Linked DNA regions of Homo sapiens: regions 2, 3, 4, 5 and 6 are each linked to region 1. The links are contacts of gene promoters, found by promoter capture Hi-C in blood cells and fetal thymus (Javierre and others, 2016). All regions are on one chromosome and are shown on one strand. Each heading gives the region's core, a stretch centred on a gene start or on the middle of the fragment in contact. The rest is flanking DNA. Distances are from core to core; before and after follow the strand shown.

The links. The method cuts DNA at HindIII sites, captures the fragments that hold promoters and counts their contacts. A CHiCAGO score of 5 or more calls a contact.
Region 2: a fragment that was not itself captured here is called in contact with the fragment with the promoter of SQLE in region 1 in 1 of 17 cell types (neutrophils); the score reaches 5.3 in neutrophils.
Region 3: a contact is called between a fragment that was not itself captured here and the fragment with the promoter of SQLE in region 1, in 1 of 17 cell types (neutrophils). The highest score is 5.0, in neutrophils.
Region 4: a contact is called between a fragment that was not itself captured here and the fragment with the promoter of SQLE in region 1, in 5 of 17 cell types (naive B cells, fetal thymus, total B cells and 2 more). The highest score is 6.8, in naive B cells.
Region 5: a fragment that was not itself captured here is called in contact with the fragment with the promoter of SQLE in region 1 in 3 of 17 cell types (erythroblasts, megakaryocytes and total B cells); the score reaches 7.5 in erythroblasts.
Region 6: a fragment that was not itself captured here is called in contact with the fragment with the promoter of SQLE in region 1 in 1 of 17 cell types (erythroblasts); the score reaches 5.2 in erythroblasts.

Annotation. Positions count from the first base shown.
Region 1 is chr8:124,995,736-124,999,754 of GRCh38, forward strand. SQLE (squalene epoxidase) reads left to right here and starts at 2,770. Exons shown (of 11, transcript NM_003129.4): 1 at 2,770-3,959. The coding sequence starts at 3,669. It overlaps SQLE-DT (SQLE divergent transcript), which reads right to left and starts at 2,463. Exons shown (of 2, transcript NR_134457.1): 1 at 2,228-2,463; 2 at 1,253-1,425. RefSeq lists enhancers at 2,091-2,150, 3,081-3,130 and a silencer at 2,371-2,870. The HindIII fragment of the contact is 7,996 bases long and covers 1-4,019 here.
Region 2 is chr8:125,689,685-125,693,703 of GRCh38, forward strand. No RefSeq gene overlaps it. Among named protein-coding and RNA genes, the nearest start is that of LINC02964, 170 kb to the left of the region's middle. The HindIII fragment of the contact is 6,595 bases long and covers 1-4,019 here.
Region 3 is chr8:125,649,145-125,653,163 of GRCh38, forward strand. It overlaps LINC02964 (long intergenic non-protein coding RNA 2964), which reads left to right. Exons shown (of 7, transcript XR_001746072.2): 6 at 1,089-1,129. Among named protein-coding and RNA genes, the nearest start is that of LINC02964, 130 kb to the left of the region's middle. The HindIII fragment of the contact is 1,737 bases long and covers 869-2,605 here.
Region 4 is chr8:124,444,740-124,448,758 of GRCh38, forward strand. No RefSeq gene overlaps it. Among named protein-coding and RNA genes, the nearest start is that of TYW2, 4.1 kb to the right of the region's middle. The HindIII fragment of the contact is 2,542 bases long and covers 607-3,148 here.
Region 5 is chr8:124,463,804-124,467,822 of GRCh38, forward strand. It overlaps RNF139-DT (RNF139 divergent transcript), which reads right to left. Exons shown (of 2, transcript NR_108047.1): 2 at 1-3,855. Among named protein-coding and RNA genes, the nearest start is that of RNF139-DT, 8.8 kb to the right of the region's middle. The HindIII fragment of the contact is 2,374 bases long and covers 500-2,873 here.
Region 6 is chr8:124,482,263-124,486,281 of GRCh38, forward strand. RNF139 (ring finger protein 139) reads left to right here. Exons shown (of 2, transcript NM_007218.4): 2 at 3,569-4,019. Among named protein-coding and RNA genes, the nearest start is that of RNF139, 9.4 kb to the left of the region's middle. The HindIII fragment of the contact is 4,732 bases long and covers 22-4,019 here.

The sequences.
Region 1 (4,019 bases), core at 1,520-4,019:
AAAAGTGTTGTCAGGAAGCCAAAACGAGCTAATATATGAAAAGTATTTAGAATGCTACCCGTACTATATGTGTGAGCTCTTGTACGAAAGTATTTCTCATGTACCTACTTGATAGCATTATGGCTTTCTGCCAGTAAGCAGCTGATTTTGTCTCACATTTCATTGCTTTCCCTTCAGGTCTCAATGACAGATTTGTTTTTGAATAAATGAACCATGGCAAGATTCAAAAATACTTAAGCAATGCTTATATAACATTTAATTCAGTTCAGAAGATATAGGCATTCAGAGTGTGCTCTGCGGTAGGTATTACAAGTGCTCTTTTTGCCCCAAATTCAGAAGTGGATCTTGAACTGCCTAAAGGATTCAGACCTGACATTGTAAGAATGACTTTGTGAAGATAAAAACATATGAAGAAAGTCGCTTTCCAGAGATTAAAAAATTATCTACTTAATAAGAAAAATTCCTTTTATGATAATCTTGAGTACAGAGTTAGCAGGTAACAGCCATCCTGGTGATAACTGTATTCCCATCTGTAAGAGTCAGTTGGCCGGGCTTGGTGGTTCATGCCTGTAATCCTAGCACTTTGGAAGGCTCAGGCGGGAGGATCACTTGAGGTCAGGAGTTTGAGACCAGCCTCGCCAACATGGTGAAACACTGTCTCTACTAAAAATACAAAAATTAGCCGGCATGGTGGCACGTGCCTCTAGTCCCAGCTACCCGGGAGGCTGAGGCTTGAGAATCGCTTGAAGCTAGGAGGCAGAGGTTGCAGTGAGCTGAGATTGCGCCACTGCACTCCAGCCTGGGCCACAGAGCGAGACTCTGTCACAAAAATTTAAAAATAATAAAAGAGTCAGCTGCTCCTCTATTATTTTAACAAAACAGAACTCACAGATACCAATAAGCAGTTTATTGAAGAATTCTCTTCAGGAAATGATTTCCCATACATTGAACTGATTCTCTTTTCTGCAGTCCTTTTAAATTTGATGTCAGTTCAGACAGCCAAACTTACTGGTAACAGTGAGGAATATTGTAGAAGAAAGAATAAAAGTATTGGAAAGCAAGGCAGTTATTGATAATTATGCATACTGGGGAACCACAAGATTTGGAGACCAGGACTTTGACTTTTGGTTTCATCATTACGATTTAATCACAGCTGTGATTTAGTCAAGCCATTTAACCTCTTTAATTTTCATTTTCCTCATTTTAAAAATCAAAGTTGTTTTGAGGGTCAAGTGAACGCCTGTGCGGGTGTTTTACCAAATAATTATTTTATTAGCAGATAAAACATAATATTGGGGGTGAAAAGTTATAAGAGGTGCCATGTTTTTTTAAACCCTGCCAAGTATCTGATACAGAATTGCAAAGGATGTTCGAGTTCATGAAGAAGTTGCCTTCTCCCCACAGAGGCAGAGTGACTTGTAACATCTGTAAAAGGTCACAGTCTGGTTAGCGGTAGCCAGAATCTGGGTCTCCTAACTCTAGTTGCCTAGTCTTGCTTTTATGCGCCAGTGTCGTTCATCATTCATTAAATACATGTTATGGAGGATAAATTAAGGGCAGAGCATTGTGCTAGGTGCTGTGGGTGATCTTATCAGACACAGATCTTTAGGGAATCTAGAGATTAAAAAGTATGAATAAAGTTATGTGACTTGGTGAAGGTCAATGGCGATTTGGTGGAAGAGGTGACAATGCAGCCACGCTCCAAAAGGCAGAAGGGATTTGCACCTATTATCATAGGGGTTAAAGAAGGAAGTCCAGAGTTAAGAAACAGGATGAGCAAAGACACTGAGGTCTTAAGCCTCAATAAATTTTAGGTAAGTTTCATCGTAGTAGAATAAGGGCTGTCTCACTCCGAGACTTTTGCACACTTTTGCTCCCTCGGACTGCTTGTCCTGGACACCGTGTAACCTCCCCCTGGGCGCCTCACCAGACTTCTCCAGGCCAAGGGAAGGACCACCTCTTGGGTTTCCATGGCTCCCTCTCTAACCACCCCCTTCTCAGGACACCTATGACACGACTATTTGACTTCTTTGCCTCCGAGCCCCCACCCCCAACGTTTCTGGTCTTGAGAGAACGGGCTGGGCGCATCCGTGTATCTCTAGCCTGAGCACCTGGAGCGTCCTCTCCTTTTCTTCTTAAGGCAAAAGCCTACTCATTCTTCCAGCTTCAGCTGGAATGTCAGGCTCTCCACGCACTCATGGCCCTCCCTTCCGCCCTCTCCACATACACAGGGCAGGGAAGCTGTGTCTGATTCCTCTTTCGGACTCCGGGGACTGACATATCATAAGCGCTCAATAAATGCTAGCGGAATGAATGGAAACGTTCCGACCCGAGGCAGCGGATCACTCCAGGCTTCTCCTCAAAGCGAGCACACCTCAGTCCAGGGAGGGCGCAGGAGCTGGGGCTGCTGCGGTGAACCAACCCCAACCCCGACCCCGACGCCGATCCCGGCCCCAGAGCGCCTCCTAGGCGACCCCTGGCCCCACCCACGCCGGAGCCGGCCCGCGCCCATCCCCACGCCCCAACCCGCACCACGCAACATCGCCCTAGCGCCTTTCGGGGCGTCGCCGCGCAGGTTGCGCCGCCTCCGATTGGCCAAACGCGGCATAGCGCCATCTCGGCCTACCGCGCGGTGCGCGCCCTCATTGGCCGGCGGCGGCAGGAGCAGGGGTAGGGGGCGGGGCAGCACGCGGGGCGCGCGGTATGGGCGGACTCGCGCCTGAGCCCCGCCCCCGGTCCCTCGTCTGGGCCGAGCCCGCCCAGCTGGCTGAGACGCGTGGAGCCTGGCGGCGAGTGGGGGCGTGCGACGGTTACTCTGGTTACTGGGGCCGCGCCGCGCTGGCGAGAGCCGCCGCCCGCGAGGGATGCTGGTGAGGAAGCCGTCGGGAGCCGCCGCCGCCATCTGAGGGAGGTACCCTGGAAACCACCTTTTATCGGTGGGGAAGTGCAGTCGCGGTGGGCGGCTCTGGGGGCCAGCGAAACGGGAGGCCTCTAAATCTTTAGGTTGGGGCTGCATTGCCCTGGAGCCGCACTCTTGAGTCCGAGGCCATCTTTTGTTGGAGAAGGCGTCGGCGTTGGCGTTTTCCCGAGGTTGGGCTGTACAGTGTCTCCGTCCGCGGAAAAAGAAGCCTCTGAACCCGCGCCGGCCCGCAGCCCCCGTGCCTTCCGGCCGCTGCTCGCCGTCGCCAGAGGCTAGGCCACGTTTCCCCCAGTGCCGAGGTGTTTCTGTGACCCTCCCTCCACTCCCATTCCCTTCTGAAAGGGCACCTGCTCTTGGTGAGAAAAGAAATTATAGCACGAAGAGCCAGTATCAGAAGAGTATCCATCACCCGCAGCAACCGCTCAGGGAACACCATCAAAAAAGAAAAAAAGGGAATATCTGGATTTCCTGGGCGAGGAGGAGCGAGTCTGCTCGGGAGCTGTTCCAGCAGGCGATTTTTAAATACTGCTTTCTACGCCCTATACAACTTGGCTTCACATACTTTTACACTAACTTTATATGATTTTTAAAAACTGGTCTGATCGGACTTCTCGTCCTGGGACACTGTTTACTGGAGTCTGGCCGGCTCTCCGTGCTCCTCTTGGTACCTCATTTTGGGGAGAACCTTAAACCCACTCGAGCAGATAATCTCCGCCTTGACCGGTGCCACCAAAGAAGCCTTGGAACCATGTGGACTTTTCTGGGCATTGCCACTTTCACCTATTTTTATAAGAAGTTCGGGGACTTCATCACTTTGGCCAACAGGGAGGTCCTGTTGTGCGTGCTGGTGTTCCTCTCGCTGGGCCTGGTGCTCTCCTACCGCTGTCGCCACCGAAACGGGGGTCTCCTCGGGCGCCAGCAGAGCGGCTCCCAGTTCGCCCTCTTCTCGGATATTCTCTCAGGCCTGCCTTTCATTGGCTTCTTCTGGGCCAAATCCCCCCCTGAATCAGAAAATAAGGAGCAGCTCGAGGCCAGGAGGGTAGGTTGATTTCAAAGCGGGCAGATGAATGTCTTATTTAGGAGTAGGATTGGGTTCACT
Region 2 (4,019 bases), core at 739-3,238, 690 kb after region 1:
TCTAGGATGCTGTTTTTTTCATCCCTATGGGGATGCAACTCCCACTTGAACATGCTTTCTACATACTATGCCACTGGGAAGTTGTCAGTACTTGCATTGCTATTTCCATTTTAGATGAGGAATCTGAAATGAAGTGCCTTGCTCAAGGCTATGGAGTGGATAAGGGAGTTACCTGGGACTACCAGGGAGTTCTCTTGACTCTGATTCCAGGTTTCATTCTCATGCTCTGTGATGCCTTTCATTAATGTAGAGGGCTGGGAGCACCTTGGCTACTCGGACACCATGGAGTAGCCAGACAACAGGTACAATCTGCCTCTTTAAGTCTGTGGATCTGTTTTAGAACCTCATAGCCTTCACTTGGGTAGAACAAGTCCGTAGGTAAAGTCTCAATAATATTCACAGTAAAAGTTTAAACAATTAATATTTTAAATTACAATAATACATGCTTATTGTTGACATTTTAGTAAATACATATATATGCATTTAAAGCACACAATTCCACCAACCAAATTATTTACATACTTTAATGCTATGTTCTTCCAGTTTTTCTTTAAGTATAAAATACTGGTATCTTTATGATTGCGTTAATTATTTTGTATCCTGAAGTTTCACTTGTTTATTATGATCTTGTTTATATAATTAAATTTTCTTAAAAATATTTTTAATGGTTTTGTAGTATTGGCGTAACATAACCTCTTTAAATCGATCCCTAATTCTGAATATTTAGATTTTATATATATATATATATATATATATATATATATATATATATTTTTTTTTTTTTTTTTTTTTTTTTTTTTTGCATTTTTCGGTAGAGACAAATTCTTACTTTATTGTCCAGGCTGGTCTCAAACTCCTGGGCTCAAGTGATCCTTCTGCCTTTGCCTCCCAAAATCCTCAATTATAGGCATGAGTCACTGTAGCCGGCCTATTTCTAATTTTTGTTAGTATAGATTACACTTTTTTTGTTGTTGTTGTTGAGATGGAGTCTTGCTCTGTTGCCCAGGCTGGAGTGCAGTGGCACCATTTCGGCTCACCACAACCTCCGCCTCCTGGGTTCAAGCGAGTCTCCTGCCTCAGTCTCCTGAGTAGCTGGGATTACAGGTGTGTGCCACCATGCCTAGCTAATTTTTGTATTTTTAGTAGAGACAGGGTTTCACTATGTTGGCCAGGCTGGTCTCAAACTCCTGACCTTGTGATCTGTCCACCTCAGCCTCCCAAAGTGCTGGGATTACAGGCGTGAGCCACTGCGCCTGGCCCTGGATTACACTTTTAAAACAATATATTTACAGATATTTTTATACAACTGTATAGGAACCTTTATATAATTTTCCTAATATTTGCTTTGAAGAGATTCCTTAACTTTTTTTTTTTTGAGTTAAAAGAAATGAACATTTCGAAGATTCTTTATACATCTCATCTTCACAACTTGTTTTAAACCTCTTCCATAGCTTCAAGCTATGGTCCTGCTTTCTGGTTCTATTCTTCATCTTACTCCCTGGATGCGATGCCTTCATGTTCTTGGCCTCCTTTCCTGACACTATCTACGCACCTGTTTGTTATTCTGGGCTATAAATTTCCCAACCAAATCTGGCTTAGCTCTAGGTCCTGCTGGAATTATCTTCACTCCTCTTGTGGGAAATTGGATGGGAAGGAGAAATTGGACTCCTTCGTGAAAATTCCCTCCACATATTCATCCAGTAAAAATGTATGAAATGCCCAGTGCCTGGCACTTCTGGAATTCTCTCCAAAGATGCCATCCTGTTCCCACACTGTCATGGGAACAATAAAGGGAACCGTGTGGCCTCCTGCCATCTGCGTGTCTCCATCCCAGGGCGAATGCTTGATTAGTGGGGTGGTACTGCAGGCCCGGATCCTCAGGAGTCATCACTTTTCTTCTTGCCACAACTCTTCTTTTGCTCAACAGTGCCTTAATGGCTCAGTCACTTAAGAGTGCAGTCACTTAATAGCCCTTTCTATCAATTTTCCCATCTGCAGAATGGGGACTGTGATTCTGGGCTGACCGGGTGTTGTGAGCATTAATGAATGTTTTGAGGCATGTTGAGATCTGTAGATAAACAAACCTCAAGAAGTACAAAGTGCTAATGAGCCTGTTGCTGAGCAGCTCGCTTTGAGAGACTGCTTTCTTTCCCACAGAGGAGGAATCAGTTCCTAATCCCTGGGCACAGATGTTTTCCAGCTGCTTTTGGATGAACCAAAACAGTGGATTCCAAAGGGAATTTTCCCTGGACACATGCAGCTCTCAGGTTAATGGAAACCTCAGAATTAAGTCTAAAGCAACACCAGAGTAACTCCCAAGTTAGTTTGCCCGGTGACAGCACCACTTGGTAGAGTTTCTTGGCACTTTCTGCAACAGTGTTTGCCTGAGTGTGGAATGTATACTACTGATGACACACAGATGCCTTTGATGGTGCGTGGATGAACTTTTAATAACTTTTCACAGTTATGCATTTTTTGGTGGTTATTTTCTATCTGTAGCAAGTGATACTATTTATTTATTTATTTATTTAATTATTTGTCACAACAAGAATAACTGACATTTGGGCTGGGTGTGGTGGCTCACGCCTGTAATCCCAGCACTTTGGGAGGCCGAGGCAGATGGATCATGAGGTCAAGAGATCGAGACCATCCTGGCCAACACGGTGAAACACTATCTCTACTAAAAATACAACAATTAGCTGGGCATGGTGGTGCACACCTGCAGTCCCAGCTATTTGGGAGGCTGAGGCAGGAGAATTGCTTGAACTCAGTAGGTGGAGGTTGCAGTGAGCCGAGATCGCGCCACTGCTCTCCAGCGTGGGTGACAGAATGAGACTCCATCTCAAAAAAAAAAAAAAAGAATATCTCACATTTACTGAGGGCTTACTTTGTCCTGGGTACTGTTGTAAGTGCTTTACAGCAAAGCATTTAATCATCACAACAGCCTTATCTTTAGATATTCTTATTATCCCCTTTGTACACATGGGGATGTTGACACACAGAAACTTTAAGGAGTCTTACAAACTGTCTAAATTTACATAGCTGGCAAACAGTGGAGATGGGGTTTCTATCAGACAATTTTGGCTCCAGGGCCCATGTTCCTGTTAAACAGCCTGTCATATTTCCTTTCAATATATTTGCATTTGTGGTACTGGTATAAAGGATATTTAAAAACAGATTATTTAAAGTTACAAAAGCATGTTGATTGGAATAAAAATGATGTATAAAATCTGAGTTAAAAATAATGAGATGGTTTGAAGATATGGTGGATATTGTGATGTTGGAATCAATGACTGAAGGGCAGTGCGCCCTAGCGGGTGGCCTGGTGACCACCGGGGCCACTATTCTCTAGAAGCTGGTTAAAAATCCAGATCTATGGGCTCTCTGTGGGTGCAGTCCAAGGATCTGTATTTATAAACAAAGGCCTCAGGGCATTTCCATATCATGAAGCTGTGACACACCTGTTTCCCAACCCCCAATCCCTATCTGGGCATAAGACAAACAACAACAACGACAACTGCTGATTGGTTGGGTGTTCCACTGGGTTATCACTCTTTTGGCCTCATGTCAGGGAAAGGCAGAAGAGAAGGGACAGAGAGCTACTCTTTAGATTGCTAGACACAGGCCTTATCCTAATCCTCACATTGAGGAAGGTGTGCTTAGGCCCATTTTACAGACAAGGAAACTGAAGGTGAAAGAGGGTAAGTGACTTGGCAAGTGGTGGGGCCAAGAGTCAGACCTGGGCATGTAGCGTTCATCAGCCGAGCACTTTCCATTGTACCAGCCCTCTGAGGCCAGGCATTCAGAGTTAGCGCATCCCCAGACAAGCTGAAAGGGGGCCCAAGTCAGGGCAGTGAGCTTGCATTTGGAGAACTGCGCTAACTCTTAGTGCTGGAATTTAAAGCATGGTGTGATCTCGGCTCACTGTAACCTCCCAGGTTCAAGTGATTCTCCTGCCTCAGCCTCTGGAGTAGTTGGGATTACAGGTACCCGCTACCATGCCCGGCTAATTTTTGTAT
Region 3 (4,019 bases), core at 487-2,986, 650 kb after region 1:
GAGCAGTTTGGCTGTGGTGTGATGAGGAGGAGGTGGTTGGCTGGTGTTTGCACTGTGCAGCACTGAATAAGCAGGCTTCTGCCCCAGCAAACCCTGTTTAAAAAAAAAAAAAAGCAGCCTCCAGTTGTGGGGCCAGGCCAAGGGGGTAAACATAAGCTCATTTATATTATAGTCTTTAGATCGGAAAAACCACGGTATTTCTCTCTTTCCGCATTTCGCACTGAATGTCAGTGTGCAGCAATAGATAACTAATACATCCTTGACTTACGGTTTATGCCACACTGTGGAAAACACCATCCTGAAGGAACAGCATTAAGGCACTATTCCAGTGGGAAGGGTGGGGTAATGATGGAAATTAAAGGGACAACCTGGAGAAGAAAACTAGATGAGGAATCAAAAGCCTTGGGTTCTGGTTCCAAGTCTATCAAGACCCACCAGCTGTGTGAGCCGAGTGAAATCATTTCCTCTTCTGTAAAGAGGAATTAATGATAAATGCCCTTCTTACATCACACTCTGGAAGGCTAGGCGGAACCCTGTACTGTGGTCTTACAATATTGTTAGGAAGAGAATATTTCATATTCTTAAGTCCCTGGGGACCCTAGACTTTGAGGAGGATCAGGGTCACAATATCCATTACACCTTTTATTTTATTGATTGTCAATACATATTTGTATTTGCTTTATGTTTACCTTGTGTCAGTCTCTTGTCTTACTGTCTGGGATCCCCTGCCAAGGGTCTCATCTTAGTTATTTCTGGAAGTCCCAGGGAACAGCTCATGTGTCCATGTGAACTCCATCCCCCTGTCTCTCATGTAGTATTTACTCTTCTGTTTCCCAGCTCCAGCTTTCTGCTCTGATGTCTGCACTCAAGCTTTGGAGGCTCTTGCCAAGGTTGGTGTGGCTGGTGTCTGCACTGGGGATCCCACATTCATCCAGTGTCACCTTGTGATCCATCCTGACCCGATGCCTCTGTCTTTTTGCATCTTGTTTACTTACATTTGCCCCAAAGCAGGGCCACGCTGCCTCCCAGTAACTCAAGGAGATTTTAATAAAAAGTAATTCTTTTTTTTTTTTTTTTTTCTGTTTCAGCATTCACCCTCACAGGTTCTGGAACAAGCTCCAAGGCAGAGGTAAAGAAGCGTATCTGGACACGTCTGAGCCGTTGCACTCAACTTGTCCCTCTACTTTCCATGATTGCTCCACTTACTACACTGGAATAGTGTCCCACTGGAACATGGTCCCTTTAGGATGGTGTTCTCTAAAGTGTGGGGCACTGACCATTGGTCGAGGCTGTATTAGTTATCTATTGCCATGTAACAAATTACCCCAACACTTAGCAGCTTAAAACAGCATCATTTAGTGTCTCACAGTTTTTAAGGTCAGCAATCCAGGAGAGGCTTAACTGGGTCTCTGGGCTCTGGGTCTTTCCCAAAGCTGTGGTCATGGCAAGGCTGCATAGGGCAGGGGCTGCTTCCCAGCATCCTGGGGTTGGTGGGGGTAGGACTCAGTTTCTTGCCGGCTGTTGTGCCGAGGGTCTCTGTGCCTCAGGAGCTACTGGCTAGAAGATTTCCTCAGTTTCTTTCCACATGGATCTCTCCATAGAGTATCTCCCAATATGGCGCTGGCTTTGTTGTAATGAACAAGTGATAGGGCGAGGCAGAAGGCAAACAAGACACAAGTCACAGTCTTTTATAACCTATTCTTCAAGTGATGTATCATCCCTTGTGCCAAAATCTATTGATTAGAAACTAGTAACTAGGTCCAGCTCACACTCTGAAGCAGGTTACACAAGGCTGTGAATAACAAGGGGCCAGGAATCATTGGGGATCATCTTAGAGGCTGCTTACCACAGGTGGCTGGGGTGGGGGTGAAATGAATTTTGATGTTAAGCAAATTATGATTAAAACATTTAGTCAGGTTGGGCGTGGTGGCTCACACCTGTGATCCCAGCACTTTGGGAGGCTGAGGCAAGAGGGTCACTTGAGACCAGGAGTTCAAGATAAGCCTGGGCAACATGGTGAGACCCTGTCTCCACATAAAGTAAAAAAAAAAAAAAATTAGCCAGGCTTGGTGGCATGCACCAGTAGTCCCAGCCACTTGGGAGGCTGAGGCCGGAGGATTGTTTGAGCCTGAGAGATCAAGGCTGCAGTGAGCCATGATCGCACCACTGCACTCCAGCCTGAGCAGTAGAGCAAGACCCTATCTCAACAAACAAAAACAAAAACAAAAAAATAAAACATTTAGTCATTAGCCACTTTATTTTAAAGTGTACTAGGAAAAGTGTAGGTTATTGTTTTTGTTAAAGAAGAGGGTAAATTTTAAAAAAGGAGTTAATTAAAAGTATTAAGTACAGGTGGTTTTCAAATGCAGAACATATCATACATGTTGTAAAATGTGAAAAAATCAACAAAGTTTGGGTAACTTTTCCTTAGAATGCATTTCTTCCCAGGAGGCTTAATGACTTATGCAAATAGATTCTTATAGGTCCACCCTATAGGTCTTCCAGGCAAACTTTAAGGGATTTGAAAACTAGGATAAATACAGTTTAAACTGTCCTCCAACAGAAGTACACAGTTGCATATGAAAAAACATGGCACATCTTCCTAAGCTTTGTTTCCATTTGAAGACATGAAGAGTTAAACTATCTGACCAGTAAATATTAAATAAATTCTTATATAAAAACATGTTGGGATACATTATAGAATAAATGCAAATGCAAATGTCACAAGAATTTCTAAGGTAAAAATATGTGACTGCAAAGAAATTGTATAGTTGGTGGTGGTGAGCTGTATTTGTGCCTTCTAGTGGTGGAATGGGAGGGTATGAGATGAGGGTATTCTGGCAGAGAATGTGACAGTTGCTAAAGTTAAGGCAGAGACTCTTATTGTGGCACCTACTTCAAGGTGGCCTCTATGATCCTTACCTCCCGGTGTTCATGCTGTTGTATAATCTCCTTCTGTCGATTGCCTGAGGAACTGTGACTTGCTCCTAGCCCACAGAATATGGCAAGGGGGATGGAATGTCACTCTTGTGATTGAGTTATGTTATATCAGATTCTGTATCAGAGACTCTCCTTGTGGGCTGGATGAAACAAGCAACCATGTTGGGGAGGCCTGCATGATGGGGAACTGTGGGGGCCTCTAGGACCTGAGGACGGCTTCTAGCCAACAGTCAGAAAAAAGCCAGGACCCTCACTAAGAGAGCCACAAGGAAATGAATTCTGCCAACAACCTGAATGAGCTTGGAAGTTGATTTTTCCCCAGTTAAGTTTCCAGATGAGGATGCAGCCTGCCCGATACTTGAGCCATAGCCAGATGAGACCCTAATTGGAAAACCCACTTAAGCCATGCGAAACTCCTAACCCGCAGAAATTGTGAGAAAATAAATGACTGTTGTTTTAAACTTCTACGTTTGTGGCAATGTGTTACACGGCAATAGAAAAAAAAAAAAATCGAAAACCAAAAAGAAAATACATCCACTATAAGGCACATGTGAAAATTTAAAAAACACTCAAGATACAGCACATTAGGTGAAATAATTTTGTTTAAAAATTGTCTTTGGGCTGGGCGTGGTGGCTCATGTCTGTAATCCTAGCACTTTGGGAGGCTGAGGCGGGCAGATCACCTGAGGTCAGGAGTTCGAAACCAACCTGGCCAACATGATGAAACCCATCTCTACTAAAAATACAAAAAAATTAGCCAGACGTGGTGGCAGGTGCCTGTAGTCTCAGCTACTTAGGAGGCTGAGACAGGAGAATCACTTGAACCTGGGAGGTGGAGGTTGCAGTGACCAAAGATTGCGCTGCTGCACTCCAGCCTGGGCAACAATGAGACTCCGTCTAAAACAACAACAACAACAACAGCAACAACCAAAACAACAAAACTGTTTTTATAGATTCCAAATACTTACACATTTTTCAGGACAAAACTCCCAAAGTTAAATTTAAAAAGTCTTAGTGGAAAATAGGCTTACTGGAGCCCTCTTAGCCAGTGTTTTAAACATGTAACATCTGCAGAGCTA
Region 4 (4,019 bases), core at 628-3,127, 550 kb before region 1:
GGCACTAAGGAGTACTTACTTAGTAGGGTCCTTTCCACTGTGGGAAAGTTGATCTGCTAGGGACCATTTTTTCAAGTCATTAACAGGATCCCATTTCCTGGCTGGATTACAATAGGATTTTTTTCCTTAGTGAGGGAAGGAAGTCTCTCATTTCTGTATTCAAGAAGAGCTTTTTGCACCTGACCTAAGTTGGCAACATAATTCTGTAATTTGAAAGTATCTCCATCTACTAGGAAATCAGCAATTCTTTCAGAAAGGCTTTCCGTACATTATTTCAAAAGGGCTGAGCCTTCCACTGGGGCAGCCCAAACTTGCAGCGAGGCCACAGGCGATAGACGGAGCCAGGTTTCTGATGTTTCCTGTCAGAGCTTAGCAAGGGTCCTGTCTAAAATTTGATTGGTCCTTTCTACTTTTCCTGAAGACTGTGGCCTCCATGCGGAATGAAGACCATATTGAATTCCTAGAGCGGATGCTATGTCTTGGTTATTGTTGCTGTAAAGATGGGCCATTATCACTCTACAAGCTTTTAGGCAACCTGAATCTGGGAATCATATCCTTGAATGAAAATTTAGAAACCTTGATTGACTTTTCAGGCCAGATAGGAAAAGCTTCAATCCAACATGTAAAGAAAGGTATCAACCAACACTGATAAATATTGGAATCCTTTACATGGGGGCATTTGGGTATAGTGTGTTTGCCAATCTTCTTCTGGGTACGACCCCCTATGCTGAACAGGCTTTACTAATGGAGGAGGTAAAGTTTGGTTGTTTGAGGTTTTTTTGGGCACACAATTCACAGGCCCAAGTCACTTGTTTTACTGTTCTAAGAAAGTCTTTTCGGCCAGGCACGGTGGCTCACGCCTGTAATCCCAGCACTTTGGGAGGCTGAGGTGGGTGGATCACGAGGTCAGGAGTTCAAGACCAGCCTGGCCAACATGGTGAAACCCTGTCTTTACTAAAAATACAAAAATTAGCTGGGCATGGTGGCAGATGCCTGCAATCCCAGCTACTCGGGAGGCTGAGGCAGAGAATTGCTTGAACCCAGGAGGCAGAGGTTGCAGTGAGCTGAGATCACACCACTGCACTCCAGCCTGGGTGACAGAGCGAGACTCCGTCTCAAAAAAAAAAAGAAAGTCTTTCCCTATAAACAGATGAGCCATATTAATTGAAATGAGAAATCTCTTCCCAAATGAGTAGAGCCATGCCAATACTTAACTATTTTCCATTGATCAGCTCTTGGTACATATCATCTGTCATTTTCATCAATTAGCCATCTGGAAGTGCTTATAGTTAACCCATGGGTCTTAGCCCATTTTTGTTCTTTTCTAGTATTAACCATGCTCTAGTTTTATCGTCACCAAGGCAGTGGGCACCAACATGCCTACCAGATTAACTGGTTCCCTCAAATGAAGCTGCCTCAGCTGTAGCATCTGCAAAAGAATGCCCTTTTATTATTTTGGAGTTTTCTTTCTTTCTTTTCTTTTCTTTTTTTTCTTTTTTTTTTTTTTTTTGAGTCAGAGCCTTGCTCAAGTTGCCCAGGCTGGAGTGCAATGGCACGATCTCAGGCTCACTGCAACCTCTGCTGCCCAGGTTCAAGCAATTCTCCTGCCTTAGCCTCCCAGGTAGCTGGGATTACAGGCACGAGCCACCACGCCCAACTAATTTTTGTATTTTTAGTAGAGATGGGGTTTCACCCTGTTGGCAAGCCTGGTCTCGAACTCCTGACCTCATGATCCGCCCGCCTTAGCCCCTCAAAGTGCTGGGATTACAGGTGTGAGCCACAGTGCCTGGCATATTTTGGAGTTTTCTTTTTGATGTCCCTTGCAGTGAATCACAGCAACTTCCTTAGGCAGCAAGGAAGCATCTAGTAGATTTAAAATTCCCAAATAATGTTCTATAGGGGAGCCCTTAGAAGTTAAAGAGTCCCCATTATTTCCAAATAGCAGCATGAGCATGAAGCACCAGAAAGCCATACTTGGAGTTTGTGTACATGTTAATTCTTTTTTAAAATTATTATCCTTTTTTGAGACAGAGTCTCGCTCTGTCTCTAGCCTGGAGTGCAGTGGCATGACCTTGGCTTACTGCAAGCTCTGCCTCCTGGGTTCAAGTGATTCTCCTCCCTCAGCCTCCTGAGTAATTGGGACTACAGGTGTGCACCACCACGCCCAGGTAATTTTTGTATTTTTAGTACAAATGGGGTTTCACCATGTTGGCCAGGCTGTTCTGGAACTCCTGACCTCAAGTAATCCGCCTGCCTCAGCCTCCCAAAGTACTGGGATTACAGGTGTGAGCCACCACACCCAGCCCTAGTGGCCCGTCTTTTAAATCCTGCCAGCTGGAATAAATTTGTTCCATAGCTTGTGTACATGAATGATCTAGGGTGCCTTTGGATCCAAGTAGATACGTAGCTAGGATTAAGGTCTTCTGTTATACTTTAAGAGTTATATCAAGAGTATCTAGCAATAAAGCCTGATAATTTAATAACTATCCCCTACTCATCTATTGGTGCCCTTTAGCTTCTAGGGCCTCTGTTATTTGGTGTGGGGTCAAAACCTCCAGATGTTGTCCCAAAGTTAATTTATTGTCTTCATCTATGAGAAGAGCAGTTGTTGCAACTGCCCTGAAACATCTGAGTCATCCTGAAGCCACATGGTCAATTGGTTAGAAAAATATGCCATGGGTCAAGGGATGTATCCCTGTTTCTAGACAAGAACATTTAGGGCTGTCCCTTGTTTCTCAGCCACATAAAGGAAGAAAGTAAAGCCTGTCCCTAAACCCACGGGGAAGAATTGTCCAAGTTAACACAGAAACCAAAAGATTATTAGGTAATCAAAAGTAAAGACCACAATAGGGGACTCAGCAAAAGAAATGTTTCACTAGAGAAGGGAAATGACAAAGTTCTAGAAAGGAATGTCCAAGTTCAGGCCAGTAGCGGCAAGCAGGACAAGATTTACATGGCCTTGCCATTTGTAACCAAAAAGTAAAAGTCATTCCATTAGCAAGGAGATGAAAAAGAACTGCTGAAAAGCAATCTCCAGTTTTCCATCCTGGAGCAGTTCACCTAGGGGGGACTGGTATAATTGCTGCCAGGCTTAATCTTTCACATTGGACCTTTTCATTTAAAACTTGTAAATGCGAAATTCCAAGTAAGCTTTGCAAAAAAGGAGAGACAATAAACAATTCATTTAAGTGGTCTAGATCTAGGGAAAGTAAATATTACAGAGCCATTTGTCCCCAATGTCTTCTAGCAACATGCCAGAACAACAGGCAAATGGCCCATAACCCAAAGGCAAACAAGAAAAAGGAAAGTTAAAAACCTCAGGACCAGTTCAACAAGATCTCTCTCATAAAGTAGCAGTAAAGCATAGAAAGCAATCAGGAAACTGGCAAGTGGCAGCCTTTGGAAAGCTCTTACAGAGAGCACAAGGAGGACGAATCCACAGTGAATAATGGTTAACATCCCATTGTGCTAAACCCATTTTCAGCTGTGAGGGGCCTTTAATCCTCCCAAGTAGGCCTCAAACCCAATCTTAGATAAGTGTCCTTGTCCTTCATCGGTATAAAAATGTATTCCCCTTCTTACCCAAAGTCAGTCAGTTGGTCCTGCGCAGTCTATTTCTTTTGGGTTGAAGGTCTCACCTCAATAAAGTCCTTGGGAGTTGCCACAGGAAATGTTACTTAAAAGGAATTTTGTTCCAGACCCAAAAAACAGGTTCTTGGATCTCAGACAGGAAAGAATTTAGGGCCAGTCACAGAGCACAGTGAAAGAAGCAAGTTTATTAAAGACTACTCTATTACAGAGTAGGGTGTTCTCAGAAGGCGAGAGGAGGACCCCACACCAAAAATTATGTAGCTAGCTAAGAATAATGGTCTCATGTGCTTTAGTACAACAGCTTGTGATCCACTTGTGACAGAGTATTAGTAGTGTTATTCTCTGTGTAACTATTGATTTCAGCAAACATTTATGAAAATACTATTATCTTTAAAGAGAAACCTATTCTTAAACTAATAATGCTTTCT
Region 5 (4,019 bases), core at 437-2,936, 530 kb before region 1:
TATATTTTGCCCATTTAAAAAAAGTATTTGGAAGTTTATAATTACTTTCTACTTAAATTTACTAGCTGTCACAATCATTACTGAAGAAATTCACTCTTGCAATAATATACATATGTACTTCATTTGACACAGAATTTCAACATGTAAAGCATATAAGAATTTCTTGCCACAATCATGTTTAGAATGCTTACCTATAAGGTGAATATTAAAATATTAGTAAATACAATGACTTTTTTCAGATTAGACATGATAAATAACCTGCAAGGTTACTTGACCATTGGTCACACAGAATTTCAGAGAGATCAGAACCAGTGTCAAAATAGGTATTTGTCTTTTTGGCTTTTTAAAGGTCAAGGTTGAATCAAGGGTAAACGAAAATATTGCATGAACATGAAGCTAAAATTGAATTTTATGTAACACAACAACAGCACTGGGTAAATAGAGATAGGTGGATAGACTGTCTCAGTTTCTTTTTAATAATTTTTATTTTTTTAATCGAAGCTTTACACATAATTTAAAAACTCAAAGGTAACAAAACCTAATATGAAAAAAGCCCACCATGATGAAGCAGCTGTTCTGCAGGTGTTTTGCCCTCATTCTGTGTGTCTACTTTCAATTCCAAATGGGCTTATATGACCAAAGAGATGCAGGATCTAACCAACATGTACCAACAGGAACCATGAGCATGTGTATGGAACTGGGTCCTGAGAGTGCTGGACAAGAATTAAGTTTGTGTTTATATAGGACAGCAGTACCCATTTATAGTATTGGCTTAGGGTTATGTTAACTCTTCCACACTGCGTCATAATCCGAAGAGATCTAGACCATCTAAACATCCCACATAATGTCACAATGACCTACCACATTGATGACATCATGCTAGCTGGATAAGGTGAATAATAAGCAGCTAGCATACTGTACACTGGAGGATGGGAAATAATCCTTAAGACCCAGCAAGCTGTTACCTCAGTGAAACTTTTAGGGCCCAGTAGGCTGCTTGAATGCCAAGATATCCCCTTCACAGTAAAGGACAAATTATTGCATCTCACCCACTCATTTCACCAAAATTATTCTGCCACCAGGGAAGCACACCAAGCTGTGTAGGCTTCTGTGGGAATTCAGAAGTTGGCAGTACTGTTCTGACTCGTAAACTGGGTGAGATAGAAATCTGCCAGTTTTCAGTGGGATCCATAGCATGTAAAAGTTCTCTAGCAGGTATGGTGTATTTAGCCCTGTTGCATGGACCAATTCAGGATATTCTATGGGACAAGAGTAAATGTGATAAGAAGCCATGAAAGTTGAAGGCAAGCTCCAATGGGAGAATCACAAGGTCGACTCCTGGCATTCTGTGGCAAGGCTGGGCCATCTGCAGTGCAAAATCCCAAAAACAACTCTATCCATGCTAATGTGCCTTGGTAAGAACTGATTATGGACATCAAGTGACCATGTAGCCAGAGAGGCCCATCATGAGCTGGGCAAAGGCAGGTGGTCAGGCTCCCATGTCATATCTGATTCTTTACCAATGTCCCTTCCTCAGCTCACAATTATGGCCACTTGGGAGGCTCTCATGTCTAGCTTATGGAGGACAAAAAAGCCTGAGCTGAATTCACTGAGGTTTCTTGGAATATAGGTTCAAAACAAAAATGGACTGCTACTGCCCTACAGCCCCACACAGGACTGGCCTTAAAAGACAGCAGTAAGGAGAACCCTCCCAAAAGGCATAATGTGGGGCAGTATTCCTGGTCATCAACTGTGTGTGGAAAGAAAGTGTCTTGAACTAAGAACATATTTTCATGGCAAATAAGTTGGCTAGTTGATCAGGGGTCTGGAATAAGACTGGTATATCAGGGACAAGAAGTCTGGAGAAGCAGAGGAGAAATATATCAGATATGGCACATAAGGAGGGCTTTTTGTATTGTATAACACAATCTTTATCTGCCAGAGACAATCCAACATGTAAGCAGCATTAAATAACCAAGTAGACAGATTTAGCCAGTAAACTTCAGCAGCTACAACCATCGGCTCCACCGCCCCCTCCCTCCGCCCCCAGGAATGGCACAGGGGGCTTATGACAAAGTAGTCATCTTGCAGGAATGCAAGTGAGCAAGAAGCCAATAGATAGCCTCCACTTATCCAATAGCCACTCCCCAGGCTGGGCGCGGTGGCTCCTGTCTGTAATCCCAGCACTTTGGGAGGCTGAGGTGGGCGGATCACCTGAGGTCTGGAGTTTGAGACCAGCCTGACCAACATGGAGAAACCCCGTCTCTACTAAAAATACAAAATTAGCTGGCCGTGGTGGCGCATGCCTGTAATCCCAGCTACTCACGAGGCTGAGGCAGGAGAATCCCTTGAACCCAGGAGGCAGAGGTTGCAGTGAGCCGAGATGGCGCCACGGCACTCCAGCCTGGGCAACCAGTGAAACTCCGTCTCAAACAAAACAAAACAACAACAACAACAACAACAAAATAGCCACTCCCCAGTGTTAAACACCAAGTTCCTGATACAGCACCAACCCTCAAGGATACCAAACAGCTACTTGGGCAGCAAATTGATTTATGTTGGATTCCTTCCATCCTAGAATGGGCAGTGATTCTCCTTGACTAGAAACTGCCCATCTGCATGTATGAGTTTGACTTCCTTGCCTATAAGTTGTTGGCCAGCTCTACTACTCACAGGTTTACAGGTATTTGATCCATCAACATGTATCCTGTGTAATATTGCCTTTGATTTAGGGATGCACTTTACAGCAAAGGAGGTGTATCAGCAGGTACATAACCATGAGATCCACTAGTCCTATCACATACTATATAACCGAGAAAATGCGGGTCTGATGGAATGATGAAAAACCCTTTTGAAGGTGAAACTGAAGCAAAAGCTTGAAGATAATAGCCTGTGAAAATGGAATGACCTTGTCCACCAGGGTACAGTATATACTCTAAATCAACACTCATTTTATGGTGCTGTGTCTCATATATACATAACATGCATGTTTGGGAATGAAAGGATATAAATAGAATTCCTACTGTGTAGTAGGCTGAATAATGGCCCCCAAATATGTTCAGATCCTAATCCTGGATTCTATGAATATTTTACCTTCAAGATAAAAGAGACTTTGTGGATATGACTAAGTTAATGATCTCAAGATACAGAGATTATCCTGGACTATCCAATAGGCCCAATATAATCATAAAGATTCTTACAAGAGAGAGGCAGATTTGCCTAGTAGATGCAATGACTTAAGCAGGAGGATGGGGTGATATGAGTAAGGGGCCATGAGCCAAGAAATGTAGGTAGCCTCTAGAAATTGAAAAAGGCAAGGAAACAGACTTTTTCTTGAAGACTTCAGGAAAAACAGTCCAGTTGATATCTTGATTTTAGGCTTCCAGAACTGTAAGAAAATAAATTTGTGTTGTTTGAAACCACTAAGTTCGTAGTGTCATAGCAGTGATAGGAAATTAATATAACCACATACTCTCACTCCCAGTGACCCAAGTGGGGAGTTTGGACTTCTCATCCCCGCAACTTTGTGAATTAGAAGTCCTGATTCCCAAGAGAGGAACCTTTTCATCAAGAGACACAATAATAGATCCTTTAAACTTTAACTTGCTGAGGTTTCCCGGTTCAAGGTCCTTGTGCTAGGAGACCAGCAGGCAAGGAAGAGTCACCATGTTAGTTGGGGTAAATGAATCCAATCATCAGGAGGAAATAGCGTTATTGCTACACGATGATGGCAGGAAGGAATATACCTGTAGTTTACACTCAAGACCATATAGTGGTCTCTTGATATGTCCCAATATCAAGTAAAGTGGACAACTTCCAAAACAGCAGGGTAAACATCTCCAAATACTGGCTTCTCTATAAAAGCAATGAGAACACAGGCAAAAATGGTCAGTCAACTTTTTCAGAACTCTAGAAAGTAACTAAAAGCTTGAAATAATCTGAGGTGCCTCTATTTGAGAAAAACAGCTAAATCTTGGTAAACAGGGAAGCATTTTAACTTGCCTTATTCCCAGCCCCCA
Region 6 (4,019 bases), core at 1,138-3,637, 510 kb before region 1:
CATTTGTGTGTAGTAAAAACAAGCTTCAGGAAAAAAGTTATTAGAATTTTAAAAATTAGTTATAAAATTATGGCAAAGCTCATGAATAGTTACTGAAGATTAATTTACTACTTTGTGAATAGCAAGTTGACAAAAATAATTTACAGTTCCTGCTTGACTTTCTCCCCTCTAAGTGGCATAAAGTAGAACTAGAGTTATTTTGTTTTGGTTTTGACCCAACTTAGAAGATTTGTTTTAAAGTTTCTGAAGTTTTGTCTCAGGAAAATAAGGTGGTTTTCCATGTAGAGAATGTAAGATTACATATGGCATCTGGTAGGCTGAATTAATTCCATTTTCTTGTTACCTTCCATGGAAGAAGTTTCTAATAAAAAAATCTTTTCAGGGCCGAGCGCAGTGGCTCACGCCTATAATCGCAGTAGTTTGGGAGGCCGAAGCGGGTGGATCACCTGAGGTCAGGAGTTTGAGACCAGCCTGACCAACGTGGAAAAACCCTGTCTCTACTGAAAATGCAAAATTAGCTGGGAGTGGTGGTACATACCTGTAATCCCAGCTTCTTGGGAGGCTGAAGCAGAAGAATCGCTTGAACCTGGGAGGCAGAGGTTGCAGTGAGCCAAGATCACGCCATTGCACTCCAGCCTGGGCAACAGGAGCGAAACTCCATTAAAAAAAATATAAAAAAAAATATATATATATATAATATATATATATTATTTAAATATATATATATTTAAAAATATATATATTAAAAATATATATATATATTTAAATATATATATATTTAAAAATATATCTATTAAAAATATATATATATTATTTAAATATATATATATTTAAAAATATATATATTAAAAATATATATATTTAAAAGAGCCTGTTCTGAGCTCACAACTCTTTGGGGGATTATTAGTGGCCCATTTTCTTGGGGAATCAGGTGGTTTGTATTTAGAGGTTTATATGTCTTCTACTTTATTGTGTCCTTTTGTTTTCCTTTTCACAGATGACTTGACATTTTGGCACAGAATACATTTTAAATCCCTGGACAGAGTCATCACTTAAATGAACTAGCCCTTGCTTATATGTGCAGTGGATTGTGAAATGCGTCTACTGTAATAATATGCAATGTCTTGATTACCTGCTGAAATAAGGTGGATAGATGGATTTTTATTTTATTTAATATTTATTTATTTATGTATTTTGAGACAGGGTCTCACTGTCACCCAGGCTGGCATGCAGTGGTGCGATCTCAGCTAACTGCAATGCCTCCCGGGTTCAAGCGATTCTCCCACCTCAACCCCCTGAGTAGCTGGGAGTACAGGCACGTGCTACCACCCTGGCATATTTTTATATTTTTGGTAGAGACAGGGTTTCACCATGTTGACATGGTCTTGAACTCCTGGCCTCAAGTGATCCACCCGCCTCAGCCTCCCAAAGTGCTGGGATTACCATTGTGAGCCACCACACCCAGCCAAGATGGATTTTTAATTTGGAGTTTGTCACTTTTTCTGTACTCCAGGGTATGGTTTCTCATTGTCTGAAACATAGATTTTATTTTTCAAGCAGGCTATATTTTGTGGTTGCCTTTAAAAACATCCAGATGTGACAGACATTTCCTAATGAATACTAATTGTACTTATTTTGTACAAAATATTGTAGAATCCATAGATGGACAGGGTAGGATCTTTGCTTTCTGTTATAGATACATGTGTAATAGGGTAGATTATACTTAGATAACTGCAGACTACAATATCAGGTGATATATGAGTGTTAAATGTTTCACTAAGTTCTGCAGGTATGCTGAAAGAACAGTTTCTATCAAAGAAAGTAGGTTTCTAGGATAGGTAGGATTTGAATAGTCAGGGATTGGGAGGTTGGGGACATCATTCCAAGCAAAAAGAATGTAAACACTGCTGTAGCTATAGTGGAGAAAGGAATGTGTTTGGGGAATCCAAGTCTGGAGCACTGATGTGTGTGTGTTAGGAGGAATATTACTGTAAAGCAAATTGGGTTCTTGAATGCCAGGAGCAAGAATGTAGATTTTAGTTGATAGTAATTTCAGAGCCGCTGAAGTATTTTGAGCAGGGAATGAAGAAAGGCAATTTGGTGATGGCTTGTAAATGGATTTGGACAAGATGAGGGTTTTTTGAGACAGACTGATTGATTGGTGTCACAGAAAAGGGAGATAGAGGTGTTAGAAGAATTTGGCAACTAATTGGCAAAGTTTGAGCATGTGGGGCTGGGTTGGGAGTATCTCTAAAAGAACAATAATGGTACCTTCAACTGAAATAGCAAATCACAAGGAAAAGCTGATTCTAGTTTAAGGCAAGTCGAGTTTCAGAACTTTGGAGATTTGCAGTTGTAGGAGTGAAAGTAGGTGAGTATTCAGATGTCATTCCCATTGTTGAAACCTTGGATAATAATGTGTTTATTGTAATCCTACTTAAAATATGCATTTCTGTCAGAGTACAAAGAAAGATGGTGTCTATGGAGTGGGGGAAGGAGAATTACCATTTTCTAAAAACATGTCTTGGTTTTCTGAGTGTTACTTTTGTAATGTGAAGAACAATAAAAAGAGTTGACTATTTTAAGAAACAGATTCAGCATTATACAGGAAAAAGGGAACTTGGAAGATGTTTCTAAGTCCGAAGGAAACTAGGAGGAAAAAAAATGGAATTTTGGACCCTTTGGAGAATGCTCAGAGTTAAGGAGTAGGAAATAAGAGCTGGCATGAGTTCACAGTTTGAAGAAAAGGAGGAATTAAGTGGAAGTATAAAACTTGAACTTGATTTCCTAAAGAATCCTTTAAAAAAAAATCTAAAACTTGGCTGGGTGCGGTGGCTCACGCCTGTAATCCCAGCACTTTGGGAGGCAAGGCGGGCGGATCACTTGACGTCAGGAGTTAGAGACCAGTCTGGCCAACATGGTGAAACCCCGTCTCTACTAAAAATACAAAAATTAGCTGGGCATGGTGGCAGGTGCCTGTAATCCCAGTTACTTGGGAGGCTGGGGCAGGAGAATTGCTTGAGCCTGGGAGGCAGAATTTGCAGTGAGCTGAGATTGCACCAGTGCACTCCATCCTGGGCAACAGAGTGAGACTCTTGTCTCAGTCAGTCAATAATAAATGAATCTAAAACTTAATAGGAATAAATGTTTTCCATTTGGGTTATTTTTAACCCAATTTTTAAAATTAATTTTAATGATTATGAAATGATAAAAGACATATTCTTTTGAGTTTTAAAACTTGTTAAAATGTATGTACCACTACAAATTCATCTTGAAAATAATTTAGTAATTTGGTGCCTTGGACAGCTACAGTGTTACTTGAAATACTTTGGAAATTAGAAAGTAAGGAATGAAATTTTAAAGAATAATTTAGTATGTTTGGTCTGTTCTCCTGAACTCTGACTTTACAAAACCTTTATTACCCTTTAAGCCTTAGTTGTCTTGAGGCTTAATGTTCATAACTGAAAATATTCATATTTCCTAATTAAAGGAAGAATATCATAACTCTTAGTGGGGAAACATTCTTACAAATACTTCATTCAAATGACTTTTTCTTTCTTTCTTTTAGGTGTATTTGCATCCAGTATTGTTCTGATCTTGTCACAACGATCACTTTTCAAGTTTTACACGTACAGCTCAGCCTTTCTGTTAGCTGCAACTTCAGTGTTGGTGAATTATTATGCTTCTTTGCACATTGACTTCTATGGTGCCTACAACACGTCAGCTTTTGGAATTGAGCTGCTTCCTCGAAAAGGTCCCTCGCTGTGGATGGCACTTATCGTTCTACAGCTAACATTTGGAATTGGATACGTTACACTACTCCAGATTCATTCCATCTATTCACAATTAATTATTTTGGATCTCTTGGTTCCTGTAATAGGCTTAATCACAGAGCTACCATTACACATCAGAGAGACTTTACTGTTTACTTCTTCCTTGATTCTCACATTAAATACAGTGTTTGTCCTGGCAGTGAAACTGAAGTGGTTTTATTATTCCACACGATATGTTTATCTTTT